3 separate regions of the Homo sapiens genome follow, and all the other regions are linked to region 2. The links are contacts of gene promoters, found by promoter capture Hi-C in blood cells and fetal thymus (Javierre and others, 2016). All regions are on one chromosome and are shown on one strand. Each heading gives the region's core, a stretch centred on a gene start or on the middle of the fragment in contact. The rest is flanking DNA. Distances are from core to core; before and after follow the strand shown. Region 1 holds the start of SRSF9 (serine and arginine rich splicing factor 9). Region 2 overlaps PLA2G1B (phospholipase A2 group IB). Region 3 holds the start of DYNLL1 (dynein light chain LC8-type 1).

Region 1 (3,516 bases), core at 963-3,462, 150 kb before region 2:
TATTATGAGAATCTCTTGCTTATTTCCGTCTGATAAAAATCCTACAAGCAGCTGGGCGCGGTGGCTCACGCCTGTATTCCCAGCACTTTGGGAGGCTGAGGCAGGCGGATCACGAGGTCAGGAGATTGAGATCATCCTGGCTAACACGGTGAAACCCTGTCTCTACTAAAAATATAAAAAAATCAGCCGGGCGTGGTGGCAGGCACCTGTAGTCCCAGCTACTCAGGAGGCTGAGGCGGGAGAATGGCATGAACCTGGGAGGCGGAGCTTGCAGTGAGCCGAGATCACGCCACTGCACTGCAGCCTGGGTGACAGTGTAAGACTCCGTCTCAAAACAAACAAACAAAAAATCCTACAAGCAGAATTACAAGATCGAAGGGTATATGTATATTATGAAAGCCTGATGTATACTATCAACTTGTATTCCAAAAAAGATATACACTCAGTAGTATATGTGGGTGTCTAGTCTTTGGTTTGTTTTGATTTTAAAATGCTCAGATGGTATAATGAGAAATCAACTACCTTCTGATTAAATGTGTGGTTTTAGTCCCTTTTTTTGTTTGTTTTTGTTTTGTCTTGTTTTTGAGACAGAGTCTCCCTCTGTCACCCAGGCTGGAGGAGTGCAGTGGCACAATCTCGGCTCACTGCAACCTCTGCCTCCCAGATTCAAGCGATTCTCGTGCCTCATCCTCCCAAGCAGCTGGGACTACAGGCGTGCCACCAAGCTTGGCTAATTTTTTTTTTTTTTTGTATTTTTAGTAGGGGGGCGGGTCTTGCCATGTTGGCCAGGCTGGTCTTGAACTCCTGGCCTCAAGTGATCCACCCACCTCAGCCTCCTAAAGTGCTGGGATTACAGGCATGAGCCACCACGCCCAGCCAGGTTTCATTTTTAATATGAAAAATCTTTATTTATTTTTGAGACAGTCTCACTCTGTCACCCAGGCTGAAGTGCAGTGGCATGATCTCGGCTCACTGCAACCTTCGCCTCCCGGGCTCAAGCAATTCTCCTGCCTCAGCCTCCCGCGTAACTGGGATTATAGGAACACGCCACCACGCCCAGCTAATTTTTGTATTTTTAGTAGAAACGGGGTTTCCCCATGTTGCCCAGGCTAGTCTCGAACTACTGACCTCAAGTGATCCTCCCGCCTTGGCCTCTCAAAGTGTTGGGATTACAGGCGTGAGCCACCGCACCCAGCCTGAACAATCTTTAGGTTAGGAGTATTCCAGCCGGGCGCCGGGCTCAAGCCGGTAATCCAACACTTTGGGAGGCCAAGGCTGGAGGATCGGTTGAGCCCAGGAGTTCGAGACCAGCCTCTCTACAAAAAAAATAGAAAATAAACTAGCTGGACGCAGCGCAGACCCCTCACGGCGCCCCGAGGTGGGAGGATCACCTGAGTCCAGCGAGATCGAGACTGCAGTGAGCCGTGTTCGCGCCATTGCACTCCAGCCTGAGCAACAGAATAAGACCCTGTATCAAAAACAAACAAAAAGTCTTCTGGTGCAAGGCCTCACTGTAAGGTCCCTGGGTTCAATGCTCCGCGTTCTGGGATGTGAATGTGGAAAAGTAAGTGCCAAGGTGGGTGTCTACCTGAGCTCCATAAGGACTCAGTACTTAGGATGGGAGCATGGCTCTGGGTTCCATTCCTGACCCCTCTGTGGCCTCAGACTCTGCCCGGGAGAGGATGAAAAGCACAAGTCGGATGCACTCTATAGTGATCGCTGTGATACTCATTAAGAGTCTTACTCCCTCGACTCCGACAAACTCAAGGCCAAGCTATGGAGTCCATCTCATGCTGACACCGTCAGTTCTGAGCAACTGTAAAATGGGGACAGGGTGGCCCGGGGGCCTACTGACCTGAGGTGGGGGCCGCGACAGCCCGGCCGCTGCGGGGTCAGCCTGCGGTCTCCGCCTGACTCCAGCTCTCCTGCGCCCCGCAGGCCCTGGGCGCTACCCACGTCAGTGAGTGCTCACAAGTCTGTGAGGTAGGCGGCGCCACAGAGAGAAACTGAGGCGCGGGAGCCCAAGCCACTTGTCCAGCGCCTCAGCCGAGCGCGAACCGCGCTCGGGGATGGCATCCACACGGCCCGGCCCCAGGCTCTCCCTGTCAGCGCCCGAAGGCCCTTCGCACCTCCAGGGGGCGCCGGCCTGCGCGCACGCGCAATGGTCGCAGCCGCGTTCTCTTTAAGAGGACTCCTTTTGCCTCCGCCGACCCCTTCGCTTCCGCTCCGCGTTCCCACAATGCAGTGCGGCTGAGCGCCTCGGAGCCCGCGGGGACGCTGCGGGGGGACCCGTGCTGAGGCGGCGGCGGCGACGTGGGCTGCGGCGGGCCCGCGGCGTCGGGCGGTGCGGATGTCGGGCTGGGCGGACGAGCGCGGCGGCGAGGGCGACGGGCGCATCTACGTGGGGAACCTTCCGACCGACGTGCGCGAGAAGGACTTGGAGGACCTGTTCTACAAGTACGGCCGCATCCGCGAGATCGAGCTCAAGAACCGGCACGGCCTCGTGCCCTTCGCCTTCGTGCGCTTCGAGGACCCCCGGTGAGGCCCCCGCGCCCCTGCCCTCTCCTCCTCGGTGCCTGAGGCCCCCGCCTTCCCTGCTGTCCCCTCCCCCAGGGCTCCCCTCCCCCCGGCCTCCCCTCCCCCCGCCTCCGCGCAGACCCCTCACGGCGCCCCCTCACGGGTGGAGGATGAGGCAGCCTCTCCTCGCAGGCCCGGGCCGTCCTTCGCGCCGTCGTCACTTCCTTTATTTTTATTATTCCAATATTTTACTTAGAAACCCAAAAGCTGAGCCTTTGGAGGGCCCAAGCCCGCCTGCACCGGCCTCGGGGGGTCCAAATGAGCCTTGTCCGCCTCCTGCCTGGGGCAGCACCGTAGGGGGAAGCGGCCGCGGGGCAGCGCGGGGGTCGCCGTTCGCCCTTCCCGCTCGCCTCTCCCCCGGCCCGTGCTCGCCGTGGCTGGAGAGCAAGCTGCAGGGTCGCGGATGCCGCTGGAGGTCGTGGAGGGATCTCTGGTGGAATAGCTCGCCGTTCGCGCGCCCCGCCCCGCAGGCCAGGGCCCGGGCTTTGTAAAGGGATCACGGATTCGGGAAAACTTCTAAAACAGCCGGAGTGGGGCTCTGATTTCACTTCCCTCCTTTGATGAGGGAGGCTTGGCGAGATGCTAAAGGTTCCAGGGATTTGGAAACTCTAGATTCCTAACCCCGCTCTAAGGAGTGCTTGTGATTTTGCAAACAGCGTCGGCCCTCAGGCCGGAAAAAGCCCAGGAACTTTCAAAACTGTGGTTGGTGGTGGTTAGCAGCTGCGGCGCTGACCTGGTCACTCCACTCCGGCCAAATAAGAGCCCGCACCCTGTTTTCCTAGCATCATTTGCTCCCGGGGAACGCGGAATGTTCGTAGGGTGTCCGACCTACCTGGGGTGGACGTATTGATAGGGCAAGGGGAGCATCTGAGGAAGGGCAGGCAGGAAGCACCGCGAGGCGTTGATGGCTGAAGAGTCGACTCTGACAGCTCATCCCTA
Region 2 (3,986 bases), core at 722-3,221:
TGTGGCTTGGGGGGCTCAGGCACCCCCGTGGATGAACTGGACAAGTAAGTGATCCGCCTGCAGGAAAATTGGAGTGCCTGCCGGGGGCGGGGTGGGGCACACGCCAAGGATCTCACGAGGCATACAAAGGGGACTTGCATATCTGCTAAGGATAACATATTTTCACCTCTTGTCAAATAAACAAATATGTTCCAAGAGGACCCTGTAGCGAACGCACCCCGTTAGAGATGGAAACAATGACCGACGTGCAAAACAGTGGGCGATGCTGCCCTCCAGTGGCAGAATGTAGCAACAGTAAACATCACAGCAACTATCCACGTGTCATTTTCTAGCAGTGGTTGTCACTGCACCTTCTGAATACAGGATTTTACTGTATTCTTGCAACCATGTTAAAAATCGCTTTCAGGCCAGGCGCGGTGGCTCATGCCTGTAATCCCAGCACTTTGGGAGGCCGAGGCGGGCGGATCACTTGAGGTCAGGAGTTCGAGACCAGCCTGGCCAACATGGTGAAACCCTGTCTCTACTAAAAAATACAAAAATTAGCCGGACATGGTGGCGAGCGCCTGTAACCCCAGCTACTTGGGAGACTGAGTTGGAGGTTTCAGTGAGCCAAGGTCGTGTCACTGCTGTCCAGCCTGGGTAACAGAGCAACTCTGTCTCAAAAAAAAAAAATGCTTTCAATAAATATATGATAAAAGGACTTATATTTTTTCAAGCCATAGGATCATTTCTCCTGAAGCATCTTGGCGAAGTCATCCCCACCTGTTCCTGAGAGTGGGCAGGTGAGGGCTGACCTATTGCTCTGCACTTACTCCTATCTCAGCTGTCCCTCCCACTTTCCAGGTGCTGCCAGACACATGACAACTGCTATGACCAGGCCAAGAAGCTGGACAGCTGTAAATTTCTGCTGGACAACCCGTACACCCACACCTATTCATACTCGTGCTCTGGCTCGGCAATCACCTGTAGCAGTAGGTTTATCCCTTCCTTGACCTATGAATTCTAGTTGGTTCTCAGTAGGCCGGGGGGAAATAATAGTAACAACAGCCATGATTTAGTGTTAATTTTCTTGGTTCTGGGCAGTGTCTCCTTTAATCCTCAGAACAACACTATGGGATAGGTACAATTATCCTCACTTAACAGATAAGAAAACTGAGGCTCAGAAGGCTGAGCTATTTGCCCAAGATCACACAGCTTGTAAGTGGTGACAGTTTGGGTTTTTTTTTGTTGTTGTTTAGAGACAGGGTCTTGCTCTGTCACCCAGGCATGAGCACAGTGGTGCAACCATAGGTCACTGCAGCCTCAACCTCCTGAGCTCAAGGGATCTGCTGACCTCAGCCTCCCAAGTAGCTGGGACTACGAGCGTGCACCACCACGCCTGGCTAATTAAAAAAATTTTTTTGTAGAGACTGGGTCTTACTACGTTGGCCAGGCTTGTCTTAAACTCCTGGCTTCAAGCAATCCTCCTACCTTGGCATCCCAAAGTGCTGGGATTACAGGGGTGAGCCACCATGTGCGGCTACTTATTTCTTTACATTCCATCTTTCCAATAGAATGTAAGATCCACAGAACAGGGATTACTGCCTATTTTCTTCCTTTCTTTTTTGAGACAGAGTCTCACTTCATCACCTCAACCTCCGTTCAGCTCACTGCAACCTCTGCCTCCCGGGTTCAAGCGATTCTCCTGCCTAAGCCTCCTGAGTAGCTGGAATTACAAGCGTGCACCACCATGCTTGGCTAATTTTTTGTATTTTTAGCAGAGATGGGGTTTTACCATGTTGCCCAGGCTGGTCTCAAACTCCTGACCTCAAGTGATCTGCCTGCCTCAGTCTCCCAAAGTGCTGGAATTATAGGCGTGAGTCACTGTGCCTGGCCGATTACTGTCTATTTTCTTTATTGCTATATCCCCAGATCTAGAGCAGTGTCTGACATATAGTAGGTGCTCAATAAATAATTGATGAATGCACAGCCTAGATATAAACTTTCTTTTTCTTTTTTTAAAACAATCTTGACAACTTTGCAGAATAAATACAATCTTGCATTCTGCTTTTTCACTTATCACCTTGTTATGACTTTTTCATATTGCCTCAAACCTTTATTGTTACTGTTTTTTCATTGTTACTATTTTAGTCACTGAATAATATGGCTTAATTTGCTTATACATCCTCCTGCTCCACTTTAGAAGGCCAAATTTACAAATCTGATGAAAGCTATGAACCCTCTCCCCAGAGAAATACACACACACACACACACTCACACACAGTTTTTTTTTAATGTTTGCAACTAAGACAAGAAACCTGCATTAGAGGATGTTTGTTCATATTAATTAAAAATAACTCAGTTGGGCACAGTGACTCAAGCCTGTAACCACAGTACTTTGGAAGTCCAAGGTGGGTGGATCACTTGAGGTGAGAAGTTCGAGACCAGCCTGGTCAATATGGTGAAACCCTATCTCTACTAAAAATACAAAAATTAGCTGGGTGTAGTGATGCATGCCTGTAGTCCCAGCTACTCGGGAGGCTGAGGCAAGAGAATTGCTTGAACCTGGGAGGCAGAGGTTGCAGTGAGCCGAGATCCCACCACTGCACTCCAGCCTGGGCGACACAGCGAGACTCTATCTCAAAAAAATAAATAAATAAAATAAAGGATCGGAGAGAAACAAAACTAATAAGATTCCTGAAGGTAAGCAGAGATACGTAAATTATATGTAATAAAGTTTAAATGCATTTTAACTGTAATCTTATTGTTTATTTTGGTTATAAAAGTAAACAAGCCAAAAGTAATGCAACTTCAAACTCTACATAAATATCTATTATGGAAAGTGGAAGGCATCTATAATCCTACTACCCAAAGATAACCAGTTACATATTCCTCCAGATTTTTGGGGCATACACTAGCTTTTTTTATTTGGGAAAATTTCCATGTGCAGGCATACCTAATTTTTCTAAATGTCTATGTAGTATTCCATTTAAGGATGTTCCATAATTTTTAAAATACATGCTTTAAAGTAGAGAAACTAGGTTGGGCATGGTGGCTCACGCCTGTATCCCAGCACTTTGGGAGGCCGAGGCAAATGGATCACTTGAGGTCCGGAGTTTGAGACCAGCCTGGACAACATGATGAAACACCCTCTCTAATAAAAATACAAAAATTAGCTGGGCATGGTGGCGAGCACCTGTAGTCCCAGCTACTCAGGAGTCTGAGGCAGGAGTATCACTTGAACTCAGGAGGCAGAAGTTGCAGTGAGCTGAGATCACGCCACTGCACTCCAGCCTAGGCGACAAAAGGGAAACTCCGTCTTAAAAACAAAACAAAACAAAAAAACACAGGATGCCCAGATAAATATGACTTTCAGATAAGCAATGGATAATTTTTTGGGGGGTATATGTCCCAAATATTGCATTCATTGTTTATCTGAAAGTCAAATTTAACTGGGCATCCTGATGTACTTGTATTCACTTAATCTGTCAGCCCTAAATGTGCATCAGTGGAATGGCTGCCAGCTTATTCCAGTTAATTCTTCTTGCCCCAGATTGTACAAAACAGGGTCCACCTTGGCTCAGTCCTCTCCTTTCATCCCTCTCCAGGCAAAAACAAAGAGTGTGAGGCCTTCATTTGCAACTGCGACCGCAACGCTGCCATCTGCTTTTCAAAAGCTCCATATAACAAGGCACACAAGAACCTGGACACCAAGAAGTATTGTCAGAGTTGAATATCACCTCTCAAAAGCATCACCTCTATCTGCCTCATCTCACACTGTACTCTCCAATAAAGCACCTTGTTGAAAGACCTCATGTTTGGATATTGTTTTATTCTCTGTCTATAAACTAGGTCTCTGCCTACTCTTTTATTTTTATGTATTTATTTTTTCTAGGTGGAGTCTTGCTCTGTGGCCCAGGCTGGAGTGCAGTGATGCCACCTTGCCTCACTGCAACCTCCGCCTCCCGGGCTCAAGCAATCCTCCCGCCTCATCCTCCCGAGTAGCT
Region 3 (4,046 bases), core at 1,217-3,716, 170 kb before region 2:
TGGACTCATCCCCACCAACCTGGGCATCTGATCAAGTGACCGTCTTCAACGCTGTTATTTGAACAAATTGTAATTCACACACATACACATCTGCATCAGATTTATTTTTTAAAGGAATGGATTTTGAGAGAAAACAACGTGGGCAGAAGTATGGAATAGAAAATAAATACAAATGTAGGCTATTCTGCTAATTGTTTTATAACCACGACAAACTAGTACAGAGAATGCCCTGTACAAAACACAACAAAGGTTCAAACATCGAGATGTTCCCTTAGCAAGGCTGAAAATTTCAGTCTCTGGTATTTGGAATTTAGGCTGCAGTCCTTGTTTTTGGATGGATCACTGGGTGTGTGGCACAGTCCATGCTTTTAACCAGATTTGAACAGAAGAATGGCCACTTGGCCCAGGTAGAAGTAGATGAAGTGTTTGGTTTCATGTGTCACATAACTACCGAAGTTCCTCCCCACGATGCAATGCCAGGTGGGATTGTACTTCTTGTCAAATTCCTGGAAAAGACAAAAGAAAAGAACTAGGATTTTAATTACCAGAGGTCAGTGTTTGCCTCTTGGATAAGCCAGAGCCTGTAGGGGCAGAAAGGAGGAACGTCAGCATCTGCAAATTCTTAGAATGAAAGAATGTTCCCCAGCTCCAAGCCGCCTACATAGTACATTAATACAAACATACTTGCAGTCTGAGCGAAGATGGGAATGGAGGCTGAGGAGGTCAAAGGACGAAAGGTCAGCCCTAAAGACAGGGTGTTTTGTTATTATGGTAATTACACCTTCATACCTTCTATAATATTCATTGACAGACGGTGACATCAACAGGTGTAGTTTATCATGTTCTGTGTAGAGAACTAAACTACCCTACTGTATTTGCCATGCCCCCAATTCCAAGAAAACGGCAAAAAATTAGCCCATCCCATTCCTCATCACAAAGATCTTAACTGCACCCCTGCAACACAAGACTTTTCCAATAGGACAAAACTTCAAACAGCATTGTATACCAAATGATTGCGGATCAAAATTAAATTTACAGGAACACAATACTGAAGCACTCCACTGTTGCTGTAAAAACTGCTGGAAACAGAATCTGTCAACTGGCCAAATTTTATCCTTAATTATTATCCAAACAGCCGTCCTCTTCACATCTATCCGGATGATGCTAATCTACTACCCTGTCCACTAGGTTAGCAAGTTGTAGGAACAACTCTTCACCATTTCTCCCACCCTAAGAGGTACTGGGGAGTAGAATGCCTGTGGGGGGCATTGGGTGGCAACGGTTATCTTTCTCTGCAAAATTCTTACAAGTGTTTGTGGAGCGTCACACAAGATTTAGCTACTCTAACTGCACGCAGTGCGAAAACCTTTTAAAGCTATGAAGGGGAGTAACGCTCTTGCAAGCTAGAGGCACGCACTGCTGCGTTTGTCAAAAAAGGCATTTATTTCTGTTCCATCTGAAGTCTTTCATCTTCCCATTCTCGACTGGAACCCTCCCACGGCTTAGGCTGCCAGCTTTCTTCCCTTCCAGCAAACACTGCTCGAGAAGTTGGCAGTCCTGCCGGCTTTCTAGACTGCCATTTACCAAGCCCCTACCCCAGCCCCCAGCCCCGCCACCACCCACCACCTTCCCTCAACTCCCCACTGGAAGGCTGGCAAGATCTCCTCCCGGCCCGGCTGGAAACACCCACGCAGCTCCCCCCTCCGGAACACCCAGATGGATCCTCGGCGCAGGAACCACACAGAAGGGGGAACCGCTGCTCCCTGATCTTAGATACCGTTGCTAGGTGGCGCTTTCCCCCCGCGGAGCTGGGTAATTAAAAAAAAAAAAAAAAAAACTTCGGACGCCGGGGGTCTGGTCTTCTCCACAGGAGCGCAAAATGCATCTGCGTCCTTTCTGGAAGCTTCTACGCCCCAAGCCGCCAGCAGTATTCCCGGGACCTGTCAGGCGCCCTTAGGAAAGCAGGATCGGGGGGAAGGAACCCCCTGCTCCCGGCTGCGTATCGGCCCCCGCGCCCATCCTCACCTTCTTGATATGAGCCGCAATGTCCTTCTCTATGTTGTATTTCTCCAGCGCCTGAGTAGCGCACTCCACCGAGTCCTGTTGCATCTCTTCCGACATGTCCGCATTTTTGATCACGGCCTTTCGGTCGCACATGGTTACCTAGTGGGCAAGGCCTGGGGTAAGGGGTTGAGTTGGGCCGCGCCCCCCAGGCACTAACTGCCCCCACCCCGGCCGGCGCCACCACGGGACGACGCCCCCCACCCCACTTCTCAGGAAGCGCGGGCTACGCGGAGGGCTAAGTCCGGAGTGGGGCGAAATAAGGCAGCGAGGACACCCCCTGGCCCCCCGAGTTTCTCACCGTGGAGAAGGGGGCTGGCCGACTGCAACGGTCTCCTGGGGGAGGTGCTAGCACAGCTCAGGCCCGGCTAGAGATACCGTCGCTACCGAAACCGTGGCGCATCTAAGCAGCCCCACGCCAGCCGCCGCCGCCTAGTGCTCAGGCCCCGCCCTGCTCCCGCCGGCCCCGCCCCTCGCCGCGCGACCCTATTGGCTTGACGCAGCCCACGGCATTCTTCCATTGGTCCATTGACTCCATGGTTCCCTCAGGATCTTTCTCCTGCATTTTGTTGCAGACCACAATGCACCGCTCACGGCGTCGGTTGCCCGGGCAATGGGCCGCACGCTACGAGGCCCACACACCCAGAAGGTGGAGCCCCGGCCGGGTTACGAGGACCACCCAGCTGTCTGGAGAGGTAGGAAGGGAGCTTCTGCCGGGGCCAAGGGAAGTGATTCCAAATTCACGGAGGTTGTCCCAGGGTGTGTTCTCGAACAACAGTCTCTAGAAGTTGGTGGCCATTCCTGCCCCCACCCCCCCGCCCCCCCACCACGACAGGTCGCATGATCTCGCACCCCAGGTTAGCAGGATTACGACAGAGGTGGCCTCTCCCTTTACTGAAAGGGTATCTCTGAAGCAGGGCCGGCTTCGTGGGTAAACCAGCAGTGCAGTCTCACAGGAGGGACCCTTACGTTTTCATTTTGCACTGGGCCCCATTTGTAGTCGGTTCTGCTCTGAAATATTTAGGGGAGGGCATCCTCAGGATTGAGGGAGGGCTTCAAGGAGGGAGGGTGTTTCCTTACGAATTAAGGGATTATCCCCAAGAGTGGGGTCTCTGCCAAGCAATGCGGACATCCTTTAAGGGGTTGGGGATGGGGATCCGGGTGGATTTGGGAGTGTTGAGCCCCGGGGTTTTTGTCCAGGGTGAAGCTTCTTGCTCAGGTGAGGCAGTCTTTCCTGTGTGGGAGAGATTCTTGGTTGGGATTTATCTCTGAGGAGGAGGTATTCTAATGGACGAAAAAGCGGCCGTTAGAGAGATGACGTCCCCTCTGGCTTAGGGAGGAGACACGAAGTGGTTAAAAAAGCAAGATCTTGGGGGAGTTGAGGGACAAGTCAGATCTGGATTTAAATCCCAGCACTGTCATTTACTAGCTATTTGAATGTCTTCTTTAAGTAAAGGAGGACTAAATGTAAAAGGAAACCAGTTCATACGCTTGTTAGCAGTATTAAACATTTGAAGTTCTCTCAGCACAATGTGAGGCACATAGTAAATGATCAATGAATCTTATCAATAATTGTCAGTTTATACAACTATCCCAAAGGCCACAGCAAGGTTTTGAACAACCAGCTCTGAAATGCCTATAATGTATTTTTCGAACCTCCATAAATAAGTTATCAGGTTAATCATGTATCTGGAAGCTTCCTATTTACATTTCTACATTTTCCTCTGACCATCTACTCTCATTACTCCTTAAAACAATTTGTGGCTGGGCATGATGGCTCACACCTGTAATCCCAGCACTTTGAGAAGCCGAGTCAAGGGGATCGCTTGAGCTCAGTAGTTGGAGACCAGCCTGGGCAATATGGCCAAACCCCATCTCAAAAAATAAAAATAAAACAATTTGAGCAGAGGCACACAACTCCAGAAAGAAAAAGATGGGAATAGGCCGGGTGCGGTGGCTCATGCCTATAATCCCAGCACTTTGGG

Evidence for each region. Contacts are between HindIII fragments. The CHiCAGO score rates a contact against its expected background, and 5 or more counts as called.
Region 1: the fragment with the promoter of SRSF9 here is called in contact with a fragment that was not itself captured in region 2 in 1 of 17 cell types (M2 macrophages); the score reaches 5.3 in M2 macrophages.
Region 3: the fragment with the promoter of DYNLL1 here is called in contact with a fragment that was not itself captured in region 2 in 3 of 17 cell types (naive CD8 T cells, naive CD4 T cells and erythroblasts); the score reaches 5.3 in naive CD8 T cells.

Annotation. Positions count from the first base shown.
Region 1 is chr12:120,468,444-120,471,959 of GRCh38, reverse strand. SRSF9 (serine and arginine rich splicing factor 9) reads left to right here and starts at 2,212. Exons shown (of 4, transcript NM_003769.3): 1 at 2,212-2,538. The coding sequence starts at 2,351. It also overlaps a transcript of DYNLL1 not described here. RefSeq lists silencers at 2,254-2,553, 2,804-2,973. The HindIII fragment of the contact is 9,777 bases long and covers 728-3,516 here.
Region 2 is chr12:120,321,919-120,325,904 of GRCh38, reverse strand. PLA2G1B (phospholipase A2 group IB) reads left to right here. Exons shown (of 4, transcript NM_000928.3): 2 at 1-44; 3 at 844-971; 4 at 3,588-3,790. The coding sequence ends at 3,712. Among named protein-coding and RNA genes, the nearest start is that of PLA2G1B, 3.9 kb to the left of the region's middle. RefSeq lists an enhancer at 170-229. The HindIII fragment of the contact is 7,122 bases long and covers 1-3,986 here.
Region 3 is chr12:120,494,533-120,498,578 of GRCh38, reverse strand. DYNLL1 (dynein light chain LC8-type 1) reads right to left here and starts at 2,466. Exons shown (of 3, transcript NM_003746.3): 1 at 2,363-2,466; 2 at 2,026-2,163; 3 at 86-506. The coding sequence starts at 2,157. The coding sequence ends at 369. It overlaps NRAV (negative regulator of antiviral response), which reads left to right and starts at 2,633. Exons shown (of 2, transcript NR_038854.1): 1 at 2,633-2,756. RefSeq lists silencers at 2,063-2,582, 2,873-2,922 and an enhancer at 2,142-2,808. The HindIII fragment of the contact is 1,365 bases long and covers 1,906-3,270 here.